Regions from separate parts of the Homo sapiens genome. Here region 2 is linked to region 1. The links are contacts of gene promoters, found by promoter capture Hi-C in blood cells and fetal thymus (Javierre and others, 2016). All regions are on one chromosome and are shown on one strand. The core of a region is centred on a gene start or on the middle of the fragment in contact, and the rest is flanking DNA. Distances in the headings are between cores, read along the strand shown.

What was found. The method cuts DNA at HindIII sites, captures the fragments that hold promoters and counts their contacts. A CHiCAGO score of 5 or more calls a contact.
Region 2: the fragment with the promoter of SNRPB here is called in contact with the fragment with the promoter of PSMF1 in region 1 in 1 of 17 cell types (neutrophils); the score reaches 7.5 in neutrophils.

The regions. Positions count from the first base shown.
Region 1 is chr20:1,116,164-1,120,925 of GRCh38, forward strand. It overlaps PSMF1 (proteasome inhibitor subunit 1), which reads left to right and starts at 2,439. Exons shown (of 7, transcript NM_006814.5): 1 at 2,439-2,739. The coding sequence starts at 2,611. It overlaps LOC105372493 (a long non-coding RNA gene), which reads right to left and starts at 2,285. Exons shown (of 2, transcript NR_136535.1): 1 at 2,221-2,285; 2 at 1,689-1,825. RefSeq lists enhancers at 2,190-2,832, 2,232-2,281, 2,292-2,341, 2,352-2,541, 2,582-2,711. The HindIII fragment of the contact is 12,206 bases long and covers 1-4,762 here.
Region 2 is chr20:2,468,809-2,473,065 of GRCh38, forward strand. SNRPB (small nuclear ribonucleoprotein polypeptides B and B1) reads right to left here and starts at 1,981. Exons shown (of 7, transcript NM_003091.4): 1 at 1,880-1,981. The coding sequence starts at 1,882. RefSeq lists enhancers at 1,601-1,720, 1,881-1,930, 1,941-1,990. The HindIII fragment of the contact is 1,844 bases long and covers 566-2,409 here.

The DNA of each region.
Region 1 (4,762 bases), core at 1,189-3,688:
ACTATGGTTCATGGCAGCCCAGCCTATGAAAGTTTATTGATGGAATGAATCTGTAGAAATTTTCCATAATTGGATAAGGGCATTACAAACAGAAGGGACAGAGCAAGCAAAAGCAGGGAAGACTGAAAGTGCAGAACTTCTCAGTAGAAAGGGCAAATAGCTTTATGCCACAGGCAGTACATCTCAGAGAGGAGTTCCACAGCCACTAGCTTTAGTGTCATCCAGAATGTAGTCAACATACATGCACTCTTCCTCAGACCTTCTCATCCAGAATCTCTGCAGAAGGGGTTCAAGAATCTGGTTGTCTCAAGGAAACTTTAGGAACACAAAATTTGGAGAGGCACAGGGCCAGCTGACAAAGGGAGTGATGGACTATAAAGAGGTAAGAGTGCCCTGACTGGGTTGGGGCTAGGCCAAGAATTCATTCCTTCATTCAGTATTCATTCTGTCTTTCAATAAGTATAGATTGATCCCAGAAGGCACTCAGGTACATATGTGCACAAGGTAGACATGCTCCCTGTTCCTTTGTCACAGTCTAGTGGAAAGACAGTCATTAAATAAGCAAAGAAATAAACACCTAACATAGTTTCAGGTTATGATTAATGCTTTGCAGGAAAAAAAAAAAGCCAGAGAGGGATTAAAGACGGGAGAAGGTTATTTTGGATGGAATGGTCTGGGAAGCCCTCTGTTGAGGATGGTAGGAGTGAGGGATGAAGCCACTTGAAATGAAGAAGCAAGACATGCAGATATCTGGGAAAAGAGCATTCCAGGAAGAGGAACGCAAAGGCCCAAACAGAACACATGAAACAGGGAAACTGGCTGGGAAGCTACTGCAATAGTCTAAGTGTGAGATGCTGGAGGATCAGACCAGAGTGGAAGCAGTGAAGGTGATGGGAAGTGGTCAGATTCATAATATATTTTGAGAGTGGAGTCAACTAGCTTTGCTGTTGGACCAGATGTAGATGTGAGAGAAGAGGGGGAGCCAAGGTTATTGCACGTATAAAGGGGATGAGAGGACAGTTGAAGGAGACTGAATCAGAGAGGTACAGGGCTGGCAGGGCTGGGGCAGGAGATGGCAGACCACATGCAGATTCCTGCAGACCATGGGGAGGACTTTACTTTTCCATTGAGTGTGACGATTTTGAGCCAACGGATGTGATCTGACTTTTCTTTTTTTTTTTTTTTCTTTTTTGAGACAGAAGATCGCTCTGTTGCCCAGGCTGAAGTGCAATGGTGCGATCTTGGCTCACTGCAACCTCCACCTCCACCTCCCGGGTTCGATTGATTCTCATGCCTCAGCCTCCCGAGTACCTGGGACTAAAGGCGTGCGCCACCACACCCAGCTAATTTTTGTATTTTTAGTAGAGACAGGGTTTCACCATGTTGGCCAGGCTGGTCTCAAACTCCTGACCTCAAGTGATCCGCCTGCCTCGGCCTCACAAAGTGCTGGGATTACAGGCATGAGCCGCCACACCTGGCCGATCTGACTTGTTTTCTAACAGAATCTCTCTGGTTGCGGAGTGCAGTACAGACTAGAGAGAGACAGGAATGGAATGGGGCAGTTCTGAGGCTGATGCCAGGCATCCAAGTGAAAGATGACAGGAGCTTGAACCAGGTTAGTGACTGGGATGGGGAAACTAAATTTATTTGGGTAAAAACAATAAGTGGATTTCATGAAACTTGTTGAAGTAACGGGTGGTAAAAATCATAAAGGGGGTAGGCAAATAAATGATTGAAATTTGATAGTGGGTCAGGAGCTTCAGCTCTGCGGGCAGCAGTTGTGTCTCCTTGGAGAAGTGGTTTCAACTCTGAGCCGTTTTGTCATCTGCAAAATGGGGATAATAACGGTCCATACTTCATAGAGTTGTTGAGAGGGTGATGTAAAGGTTTTAGCGCACGATGTAGCACACAATAAACACTTAATAAATGTTATCTTAGAAGCCAGACTGCCAGGTTCCCATAACCATTTCAGCCGTTCACCGGCTGGCTGTTGTCATCTTGGTCAAATTATCCCTCTGCGCCTCAGTTTCCTCATCTGTGCAATGAGGCACATTAATCGTTAATATCAACTGCATAGAGTTGGGTTGTGAAGATTAAATAAATGAATACAAGTAAAGCGTTTAGAATAATGTGGACGGTAGCAAGCACGGCGAACGTGTTAACGATTATTAAGAATGTATTTTAGCCACATTTCCCAGCCCCTTCCCCGGCCTAGCATACCCCATTTTGTGGATGGGAAGTCTGCCTCTCAGCAAGGTGGCCTCTTGGAGGACGCTGTGCCCGCGTCAGGCGATCCTGTCGACTGCCGCCAAGACCCGGCTTCCGGCTTTGAGGGGCCACGCCCCGCTCGCACTCCCTGGCGGAACCTTTCAGTGCTGCGCTCGCGTTGCCAACCCGGCGCGCCTCACGCAGTTGCGCCCGCTGTTGGGACTACTTCCGGCTTCCCCGCCCCGCCCCGTCCCCGGGCGTCTCCATTTTGGTCTCAGGTGTGGACTCGGCAAGAACCAGCGCAAGAGGGAAGCAGAGTTATAGCTACCCCGGCCGCGGAGCCGGCTCACTGCACTACCCCCGCCCCCTTCTTTCCTCCAGACGCCGAAGTCGCGGGCGCTCATGGCGGGCCTGGAGGTACTGTTCGCATCGGCAGCGCCGGCCATCACCTGCAGGCAGGACGCGCTCGTCTGCTTCTTGCATTGGGAAGTGGTGACACACGGTTACTTCGGCTTGGGTGTCGGTGACCAGGTACGCCACGGAGCCGGCCAGGGTGGAGGAGGGAACTGTCTTCTGCCCAAACTCAGAGTACCGGAGGCCTGGTCCAGAGCGCCCGATTTCCCCGCTTCTCCCAGTGCAGGGTCTGGGGCAGATGGCAGCGTTGGTAAAACCTGCGGGTCGGAGGTTGCTCACCTGCCCCATCCCAGCCCAGAGTCCCTCACGGCACAGCTGGCACAACATGATTTGTAAACTCAAGGGCGGACACTCGCTTCAACACAGCCTGGCAGCCTCTCAGGCCAGGACTGTGTGGATCTAGCATTCCATAGAATGGCAAAGAATCTAGACAGGAGTTTAGCTCCCCAGAGCACTTCTCACCCACCTGATCCCGTCTGAACTCCTTACCACCCAGCCTCGGGGTGAGGGGACTGACTCAGTTCCGCCCTCATACCACAGTAGAGCCTCCACCAAACATCTGGATCCAAGCACAGGTACAGGAGTGAGCTTTGACCTACTCAGCCCCAGGCCAGGGCCCTTTTTTCACCCGTTAGCATGGGCCCAGAGAGTTCACACGCCTTTCACCCTTTACTGAAGGGCCCAGCATAGTCCACTCGCTACTGCCATCCCCAACTCAAGCTCTAGGAAGCAATCACCCCCAGAGTCGTACACACATACACCCTGGGTGTGAGGGTCATATAAGATTTTCTCCTCATAGTTGTCCCCATAGGGCCAGCCCCTCTTCTCCCATCCCCAGGCTCCACCTCTTACAGCTAGGGACGTCGTTGTCATCCCCACAGAGTTCTAGGACTGCTGGACCCAACCCACCTCACTAATTCTTTGCTCTGGCATTCTTCTTTCTTTCCTGTCTCTTCCCTGTGACCCTCATCCCCAACATCCACATCATCCTAGACATCTGCTTCCTGGGAGAAGTGGGCCTGCCTCCATGCCTGCCCCTCACTGTCACTGTTCTCTCACTCTCAGAACCAAGACTAGCCATGGGAAACAGACCACCCCACCTATTGCATCTTGCCATGAGATTTCACCCTTCCTCTCCTTTTTGACTGCTTCAGTTCTCAACTCCTCTAATCATTTTTTTTAGCTTCTCAAATAGAGTCTTAATTCTCCCCTCCTGACATAGCTTTAGGGACCTCTCTTCAAACTTGCTTTGTACATTCTGAGCACTTAGACAAGTATCCCCTTTCCCCCACCCCTCACTGCTGTCCCTATTCCTCTCTGTCTCTTAGAACTAAAGACCAAGACCACCATACCCCTCTCACACTTTACCCCCTCCAGCAGGAATCAGAACACAAGAACCGTCAGGGATTTCTGGCTCTTTTTTTCCCCAGACCTCAATTATCTCACTGGGACCCCAGGTACACACTCAGGATCCCCATTCCCACCTCCAAACTCACACATACTTCATCTCTCAAATGGGCTCTAAGACTAGATATGAGGATGGAAAAGAACAGCTAGCCTTTCACACACACATACCTGGAAGCAGGAATCATTTCACCTTCCCAAACACATCTGTCCCTGACCTTTCTCTTTGTGCTGCTCTTCATTCCACATACCTTCCAAATGTCTTCCAGCATTTCAGACCTTGGGACCAGGTAGAGACAGCACCCCCATTTCAGCGTCAGGCCCCTCTTTCAATGCATAGTTCCCCTAACAGAAATCTTGTCTCCCCACTTGTCTTACTCCAGCTTTTTAATCTTAAGCAGCTCTTCACTTGCCCCAGTCATTTTATTTCAACTTTTCCTAGATTCTTCAAAGAAACTGGTATGTGGGATGGTGCAGGGGACAGTGGGGCTGAGAAGAGGAGTAAGATTTGATTTTGACCTGGGATCTCCTCCATTGGCCCTCAGCTCCCCCTGCCCTTTGTCTTGTCCTTCAGATGGAACAGCTCTGCTTTGCACTCTGTCCCTCCTCATGTACCTCACTCCCCTTACCTACTCCTAGCTAGCTACTTAGACTCTGCCACACTGTCAGAACCCCATCCACCTCTGCTGAGGAACTTGTTCTAGAGGGCGTGTCTGATACCCTTCTCTCCTTGCCA
Region 2 (4,257 bases), core at 731-3,230, 1.4 Mb after region 1:
CCAGCTACTCGGGAGACTGAGATGGGAGAATCGCTTGAACCTGGGAGGTGGAGGCTGCAGTGAACTGAGATCATGCCACTGCACTCCAGCCTGGGTGACAGGGAAAGACTCCATCTCAAAAAAACAAAAACAAAACTTGACTCCACACAAAGATACTGCGAGCCTCCCTCAGGTTAGGTGGTTCAGTTTCCATTCAATGACCATTTTAACCAGCTTCTAACCACAAGGGATCTGAACCTTTAGGGCAACATTCACTGGTCCAGCTCAACTAATGTTTACTGGGTGCTCACTGTGTATCTGGCACTGTGATAAGCACAGTACATCTCATTTAATCCCCAAAATTGGGCCCATTATTATCCCTATTTTACAGATGAGGTCACTGAGGCTAGGAGAGGTTAAGTAACTTGCCCAGTTTCACAGCTGGGAAGCTGTGTTGGAACCTAGACAAAATGAATCCAGCGCCTATTCTAACCAGTTATCCAAACAATATCCTACCAGGTTTCCCTGCTTCCAGTCCCATCGAATATACATGCCAGAGCTAGAGCAATCTTTCTAAACACCACTAAGCTTATGTCATTTTGCTGGTTAAAATCCTTCAGTGGGCAGGGTGTGGTGGCTCACGGCTGTAATCCCAGCACTTTGGGAGGCCAAGGTGGGTGGATTAACTGAGGTCAGGAGTTCGAGACCAGTCTGGCCAACATGGTGAAACCCCGTCTCTACTAAAAATACAAAAAATTAGCCAAGTGTGGTGGCGGGTACCTACAATCCCAGCTACTTGGGAGGCTGAGGCAGGAGAATCGCTTGAACCCGGGAGGTGGAGTTTGCAGTGAACCCTGATCGATCCACCGCACTCCAGCCTGGGCAACAAAAGCAAAACTCCGTCTCAAAAAAATAAAAATAAATTAAATTAAATCCTTCAATGACATGCCTCACCACCACTGAGGTAAAATTAACATGCAAGGCCTTTAGTAACTAGCCTCCTGCCAATTCTTCCCGTCTTCCCTTCTTTCTTCCTTTCTCCTCCAGCAACTTTTTCTCAGTCAACAAACGCAGAAAAATCCAGTAACTTTTTAAATCTTGTTACCCTTCAGCCTTTGTTCCTTCAGTTCTCCGGGTCTGTAATATTCCCCCCATTTTCGCCGGGAACATTCTTGCTAATCTTTTAGGAATCTGCTCAGGAACCATCTATTTGAGAAAACATTCTTACCCCGCCCCGCTGCCGTTACTTTTACCGAATGACCACACTGAATTATATTATGTGTCCCCAGCTACCTCTGTGAAGGAAGCAAACATATTTCAGAGAGTAGCCCCAGCGCCTGAGAAGTCAGGCACAGGCAAACACGGAAACGTGATGAGCAACTGAGTGGAGCTCTTCCTCCATTCGCCATCACCCTCCTCCGCCCTCCTCTCCATCCAGCAGACCTAGCGAGACTCTAGCGTGGTCCACGAGCCCCTTCCACCCACTTCCGCCAACTCTTTCTCAGACTCACAAACTTCCGCAAGTCTGAGCCTTTTACCGGGTCCCCCTGCGGCTCCAGTGCCTGCTCCGAAGCCCGGGACATATATTTATTCGGCAAAAGTTAACTTAGTGCCTACTGGGTCCCAGGAATTATGGCTACAGCGGTGTCGAGAGCCGCGGTTCTACCCTCGCCCCTGCCGAGCGACCTCGGCCTCCGACACCGGTTCCAACCTTTTCCTCGACCCCATGCCTAGCCGAACCGCCAAGGTCCTGGTCTTTCCCGCCCAGACCGAGCGGCCTCGGCCCAGGCCTTCACCGCCCTAAGTGGCTCCAACCCACGGCTTCCTCCCCGATCAGTCGCGGTTCCCACTCCACAACAGACTCGGAAGCTCCCGCGCCGCCAGCCTGTGCCCTCCTTACCATGGTGGCGGTTCTGATGGCTCTGATACCCGCCGGATTCGCCTCCTCAGAGGCCTAGCCTCTCTCCCACAGCCGATTTCCCGCCGCCGCTACCGGAAATGCAGCACCACGTAAAATGCGGTCGGGTAGAAACCTACTTCCGGTCCAGCTCACTAGCCCTGGAGTTCCGGCCCCGGAGCGGAGCTTCTGCCGAGCAGAGGCGGGGCCTGGGGACTGGGCGTTAACATCCGGCTTTGACGTAAGGAGAGCCTTAAGTTCCTGTTTGGACACCTTCCTAGCTTAAATCCGTACTGAGAGCTGCTCTGTGTCACACTCATTTCTCTTCACCCCGCCTTTCCCATTAACCTCTCGGTCCTCATTTCCCATCACCCTCCCCGGCTCTCTCCTCTACAGTCACTATTCTTGCTTTTCCCTCCACTGGCTGGACGTGCTCCTTTTTCAGCCCCTCTGCATTTGCTTTCGCCTCTGCCTGGAATGGTAGTCCCCAAGGTATACCAGAAGGCTGCTGCCCTCACCTCTTTCAAGGTTTAAGCTTAAATAACATTTTCCCAGTGAGGATTTCCCTAGCCATCCTGTAACCTTCCCACCCACCTCATCCTCATCTCTCCTGTATTTCCCTCTTGCTATCTAACACGCTGTATATTTTTGTTAGTTATTTTATTATCCCCTCCCCATTAGAATGTAAGATCCATAAGGGTGTGAATTTTTCTCTTTGTGTATTACTCATTGCTGTAGTGCCTAGAACACTTTAGCACAAAATAAGGGCTCTACCCATATTTGCTGATAATCGCATCCAGTCGTATGACATTTATTTTTTTTCTATGACTTTTTTTTTTCTTTTGAGACAGAGTCTCAGTCTGTCACCAAGGCTGGAGTGCAGTGGCACAATCTCGGCTCACTGCAACCTCTGCCTCCCCGGTTCAAGCGATTCTCCTGCCTCAGCCTCCCGAGTAGCTGGGAATACAGGCCTGTGCCACCACACTCGGCTAATTTTTGTATTTTTAGTAGAGACGGGGTTTTGCCATGTTGGCCAGGCTGGTCTCGAACTCCTGACCTCAACTCCTGGTCTCGAACTCCTGATCCACCCACTTTGGCCTCCCAAAGTGCTGGAATTACAGGCGTGAACCATCACACTGGGCCCTTCCTATGACTTTTAAATACAGCATATACACCCAAGGCTTTCAAGTTTGTTCCTCTAACCTTGGTCTCTTCATTTAACTCTTGGCCCTTTATATCCAGCTGCCAGCGTGATGTGAATGTCTAATAGGTATACCAAATTTAACATGTTGAAAACTGAATTCTTGATTCTATTCACTGTTTCTAAAACCACTTCACCAGTGTTCCCCATCCCCGAAGTTTCTTGGATTAAAAAAGAAAAAAAAGAAAATGACAAATTTGAAGCATATTTCATTCTTCTCTTTCTCTGCCATCGAATAATCAAATTCATCAGCAAATCCTGTGGCCCCCACCTTCAAATTATCTTGAATATGATTGTTGTCACCCACTCCATTGCGTCCACTCTAGTCATAGCCACCATCGTCTCTGTCTTGGATCATTGAACGAGCCCGTAACTTGTCTCTTTGCTTCCTTTCTTGTTCTCACGGCAGCCAGAGGGATCCTTCTAAACGTACTGGGATATCAGATGATGTCATGTCCTGGTCTCCACTTACCAAAAACTTCCCAGCACACATGGAATAAAATCTAGCTCTGCGCTCCTCTCCAACCTCATTCATCTCCGTCAACATTGCCCTCATTCATCCTTCTCCAGTCACACTAATCTCCTTGCTGTTCCTCAAACCCAGCAAGGAGAGCTTCCACCTTGGTGCTTTGCCATCTTCACACCATCTCTAAAGGGTGTGTTCTGTTGTCCCGTTTCCTGTCACCTGTAGATGAAGAGGCGAAGCCTCATAGAAATGAATTATGTTGCCCAAAGTGGCGGAGTCAGAGTGGGAATATAGGTCCGTCTGGCTCCTCAGCTGTTCATTTGCCCCCACCTTACCCAGCTGCCTAACACTTCATTCATGCATGCATTTAAAATCATTTTTATTTAGCATCTACTAAGGCCATGCACCATTATTGGGATAGAGTCCTTTCCCTCACGGAGCTTTACATCCTACTGAGAAAGACATAGTAAACCAAATAAATAAGTATGCAATGTAACATTAGAGTGATATGAAAAAAATAAATAAAGGCAGAGGAACTGAGAGGGATAGGGTACAGTTTTGGCTAGGTGGTCAGGGGAAACTTCTCTGAGGAGTGGTATGTGAGCAGAGACCTGAACCTACACTCAGGTCTATCAGAAGGATGAATATTATGAAGGACATTCTAGAAAATGTATATAAAGGGAATCATATAATAATACGTGGTCTTTTGTGACT